Linked DNA regions of Homo sapiens: region 1 is linked to region 2. The links are contacts of gene promoters, found by promoter capture Hi-C in human tissues and cell types (Jung and others, 2019). All regions are on one chromosome and are shown on one strand. The core of a region is centred on a gene start or on the middle of the fragment in contact, and the rest is flanking DNA. Distances in the headings are between cores, read along the strand shown.

Evidence for each region. Contacts are between HindIII fragments. The study calls those that stand out against the background at their distance.
Region 1: a fragment that was not itself captured here is called in contact with the fragment with the promoter of SPRY1 in region 2 in 1 of the 25 tissues and cell types used here (aorta).

Annotation. Positions count from the first base shown.
Region 1 is chr4:123,249,638-123,252,337 of GRCh38, reverse strand. All of the region lies in intron 14 of AFG2A (AAA ATPase AFG2A), which reads right to left. Among named protein-coding and RNA genes, the nearest start is that of SPRY1, 150 kb to the left of the region's middle. The HindIII fragment of the contact is 5,744 bases long and covers 1-2,700 here.
Region 2 is chr4:123,395,450-123,398,149 of GRCh38, reverse strand. SPRY1 (sprouty RTK signaling antagonist 1) reads right to left here and starts at 1,355. Exons shown (of 3, transcript NM_001258038.2): 1 at 1,218-1,355; 2 at 294-539. The HindIII fragment of the contact is 12,155 bases long and covers 1-2,700 here.

The sequences.
Region 1 (2,700 bases), core at 111-2,610, 150 kb after region 2:
TTTTGTTTTAATGTACTTCACCATGTTCATACTTAGAGTTCCAAACAGACTGTTCAAATCCATGGGGTCATATCATCATATCTCATACCAGTGCTTTATAAAATACTCGAGTGAATGTTAACAAATGTAATGGAAAAAAGGGTTTTCTTGTTAAATAAATTTGGATAACACTGTGTAGAAACAAAATAAAAGGTTTGTATAGGTTTCTATATGAAGGAATTTTTGGAAATTATATTAATGGGTAATAAAAATATCTAGGAGAAACCTATGGTAGTATGTAAAAATTCTATTTTAAATTCCCAAACTCTAATCATGGAACATCTCAAAAACTAATATTTCTTTTCCACTTTGGAAAATGCTGTTGTATACTTTTTGTATATGTTATAATACCTAGAAGAGGGTGATTGTCTATCAAATATATATCAATCAATCCTTAACTTACGTACAAATTAGCTGGCAAAAATTCAATTAGGAAAATCATAAAATAAATATATTTCCCTTGCTTAAAAATGAGTGTTTTAATTCTTTGCAGACAATTCTGTACACCTTAAAATGTATTTTATCAAAGAATTCAAAACTCCATTTCAATCATGGAAATCACTTCTTTCTACCTAAAACAAATACAGGACTTAGGAAATAAAGATGATTTCAGTAAATACATATTTAAAAAATTGAAAATGTTATCTAAGACAAATAACATTAATATTTATATAGCACTTAAGGATCTATGAAGCATCTTTCACATACTGTAGCTCATTTAATATTCCCCCAAATTTTGGGAATTAGATATTATTATATCCTTATTAAGACAAAGAAAATGAGGCCCAAGGTCGTACAATAACTTACAGAAACTGCGCTGAAATCTGGGGTTTCTAAATGTTGAAGCAGTCCTTTTTAATTTTACTATTTTGACACTACATGATACTCATTATTGATGAACAAACAAAATTCTCTTTCTGAAATATAACTAACAAACTTCAACAATTCTCTCATCAAAAAAATTATTAAGCATCTACTATATGCCAGATTGATTTACTTGCTGGGGATACAGCCTTGGAGAGCTTGGTTATTTTTTTAAAGTTGAAGTTGTCCTTTTCACCCTATTGGAATAATAAATTCTAGGCTATTTTAAAATTTCCTTTCTAATAGTTGAAAGAACACAGCAAAGGATATACAGCATACATGTCAGCTAAGTCACTGGAACACTCAGCATACATCTGTGTGTGCTTATTTATTTATTTTTTTTAGCTGTAGCTATCCTCAGGCAGTGCAGGTTGAGTATACTTCAATGATTATTATAACATTGTCTGGGCCAACAGCCAGCTAGGCTTTTTCTGGCCTGGTCTTGTCAGTGAAAGTTATGCTTAAAAAATAGTAGGAAAGAGCCTTCCTTCCTGTAGAACTCTGAATGAGTAAACACCCTTCCTAGAATTTCTTTAAAAATACTGTTTTGGGATATTAGGGTGGAAGAATGTATTCTGAATAATAGCATGTTCTATTATTATTAAAATCACTATATGACAACTCAATGAAAAAAGAAGCCAAGGCTTTCTAATATTCTGAACCCTATGGCTCCAAGGCCATGTTGGATATCGTGGTCTGTCCATTAAAACTTTATTAAAAAACACAAATCATAGAACAAACTCCCTTTCTGAGAAGTTATTCAAGACCTTGGGCAAGTCTCTACATCTGTAACAGCCTCAGTTTCCTCATGTGTGAAAATGAAGGCGGCTCTTTAATTACAGGTGCCTATGTGCATTTGACAGAAATTCCCCTCAAACTATACATACAAAAAATACTCCCAATTTTGCAAATAATTCCAGGGAGTTCACCTGAACTCTGCTTGTGTGCTCCAGACTAAAAATTATCGTATTGGATGACCTTTTAAATGGGCCTTCCAGCCCCCAGTTCTAGGACCCCCTGCCATTCTTATATAACAAAATATCCACAGCTTACACTGCATAGTCATTACTGTAAACATGTTAGTTTATTATGAAACCAATATCCTTCTTTTCTTCTGACCTTTATATCAAGGACTCAAAACATCTGGTATTTCACATGAAGGAGTCTTAACTATCAAACCTTATACCACAATTATAAGGCTGCCTTTTCTTTTTTATAAATTCTGAAATTCAACACTTATAGTTTCATGTTCTATCAAATGCTCAAATCTAATTTCATTAACATAGAAATACTTGTTCAGACAAAAGTATTAAAATAGACACCTTGAAAAATCAGGTCCCATTGGCTCCCATTCATTTAAAATAATCAACAAGGGTGTGTATGTGTATATAGGGAGTGCCTTCCTCTAGGAAAGGAAAGCAGCACTGAGCCTTTATACTTTAATAAAAACATATCAATGAATCATGATTCATGGAGAGAATAGTTCCAGAAACCAGGGAGAAAGGTGGATCTTTGGTAACGGCTCTGAATTATCTCAAAGAAACCTTGGATTTATTCTAGGTATCTATTTCTTCCTCTAAATCCAACTAATGCATAGACCTGGCTAACACTACTTAAATCTCTCTTAAACCTGTCACTTCTACCCATTCTTCTTTATTGTGTATTTGTGTGTTTGTTTACTGTCTGTCTTTCCCAACAGATTGTAGACTGTATGTAATGGCAGGAATCATATTCATTTTATTCAACACTGTAAGCTCAGCTATGGCACATATAAGGCACCCAATAAATGTTTACTCA
Region 2 (2,700 bases), core at 106-2,605:
CAAGTAGGGGAGTGGCGGAGTCGAGTGCGTGACGGGCCAGCTGACGGCACGGTGTGCTCAGAGAACTCGGGTTCTAGTCGCTCCTCGCAAGGAACGAAGGAAGGGATGGCGGCTTCCTGACGAGCGAAAAATCCACGTCACGGGCGTTCGAGACTCCGCAGCGCCCGGGTCGGGGCCCGAACCGCCGTCGGCGGGTGGGTCACGGAGCCGCGCAGTACCCCGGCGAAACCTCGGAGCACGCGCCTGCCAGGCAGAGGCTGCCGCGGCCGGGAGGGGGAGGGGGATTTTTTTACCCTTTTCTTTTTTTTTTTTTTTTTAGCGGGGAGGAGTGAAGAGAGTGAGGTTTGGGGATCCTTCTCGGAGAGAGAAAGGCGGGCGTCGTCCCTTGTGCCCCGCGCAGGCCGACGCGCTTAGCCGATTCCGCACGTTGGGCAAGTGGGGGCACAGCGTCCCCGGGCACTCCGGTCCCGGCAGGTCAGCCTCTCCCGGGCAGCGCTCACACCCAGTCCTCCGAGCCTGGGGTTCCACGGCCGAAATGCCTGCGACAGAGAATTAGAGATAGAAGCTCGTGAATGTCCCTTTCTTCGAAGGGCTGGGACCCCGGGCGGGCCGCTGGCCAGCTCGCCCGCAGCCCGTTGCCATGTGCTCCCTGTTGCTGCTCCCGGTGATTGACAGGCCGGCGCACAGTCGGCGTGTCAGCCGCGAACCAAAGTAACATGCAGTCCTGCACGTTTTTGCCGAGGTGCTTTTGCCCCCTGGAATGCCTAGGAGTTCAAACAACGTTCAAGCAACGCCTCTGCGCGTTAGGAATCAATACACAGAGACGGGAAATTCAGGTTTTAAACCAATGCTTCACTCGGGATTCGGTCGCCAACAATGCCTAAACAAACACGCATTTGGTCCACACACCGAGTGCTAGCCCCTCTTCGCATAAAGGCATTAACGGCTCTGTGTTTCACAAATTCGATCGTTTCAGACTTTAAACGTCTACTGTTCGGTTAAGGAAAGGTGAAAGGGACCCTGCTTTTTCTTTTAGCGGTAGCATTTACTTTAAGAGCATTAGTTTTAGCAGTGGGAATGCTACCGGTGTTTTGAAATGCAACCAGTAACCTTAGCTGGAAAGCAAGTTCAAATAAATAAATGTTCAGTTCCTTGCAAAAGTCAACATTTCTCACCTTATCTTTCCTAAAATGTCTACGGAAGGAAACGGTACTTACCTAATGCAAAGATTGCAAATTGCTTTTCAGGCACATTTAACAGCGACTGTAGCTGTTCCTTATCCAGGGCAGGGAACTGTGCTGATAATCACTCTGCAAAGCACGCAGTGGTTTGCAGAGCGGTCTCACTCCGGCTACGCAGAATTTCAGCTCCTTGCCTCCACCTCCACCTCCACTCCAGGACACGCCTCCGGTGATATCATGTGTCAATCACTCGGGCTGCCCGAAAACCTGGAACAGGATTTCCTTAACTATCGTTTCCTCTTTCGTTTATGTGTACCAACTTGGAAATGTTGCCCTACAGACTCGTGTAATAAACATCCTCTTAAAACTTCGGGAGTGCCTCTAAAAATTCTGCAAATGCAGTTTGTCATAGAGGAATACATTCGGATTTAGTTAGCAATCTTCAGTTGTCGATCTCAATTAAAAGGATTGGTGGACTCTACTCTTAAGTTGAATTAGAAAAGAATTGTGAAGAATAAAAGAAAATGAAAAAAGTTGTATGCCAAGCCATCACTTCTGACCAACTAGAGGGAAAACGTATATTGACACAAAAAGATGATTATATAACATTACAGTTCCTATTTACAACAAAGTTCAGAATATGTGAAACCTAAAGTTCAAAAGGTGGCACTCCTTACTGCAAATGTAATATAAGCATATGTAATAAAGGTGAAATTTTCTGCTGTGGGTTTTTTAAATAATTGCTTTACCTTGGCTTGTTATATGATTTCCCAAAAATCAAGCACATGGAGAAAAAACCAAATTCTTTCAATTTTGTAATATAGTTGTATAATTTTGCAAAAAATACAAACCCGTATATTTTTTAATTAGCTAAAAGTCAATTAATTAGAATAGAAAAAATTTATCAAGAAGTTTTATAATTCTTAGTAATAGCTGATATGACTGGAAAAAAAACACTTTAAGTAGGAAACTTGATTTCTACTTTCTTACAAACTATGGGATTTTAGGCATTTATTATCAAAGTTGTGCCTTTTCATGCTGCAGTGAGGATAACTTTTTGTGGAATTGAAGGTTCCGTAGAAACTTTTAAAAGCCACCTAAAGACCAAAAACTTAGTGGAAAGGAAATATTTTTCCAGGTACTATATATCAGGAGTAGCTTAAAGTCTGGCAAAACAAAGCAAACAATAACAAAACTCTAGAATCTAAATCATATAAACATATAAGTATGGAAATTTTTAGTTCAAAGTACATTTTTAGTCTCATTTACAATAGCAAGTGGTTCTGTTGAAACTATAAATATATACATACATAACACACACGCACACACACAGGACTTTCAAATGTCTGAGCACTTTCAAAAATTAAAGTTGTGTTTGGAATTGCCTCTGAAGAACACAGAGCATTGTTAAGAACATGAATAACAATAAAAAAGCATCATTAGAAAATAGCATAGAATAAGAATCAAGCCAAAAAGCTACATATTCACTCTTAATATTATGAATTGTATTAAAATAGGC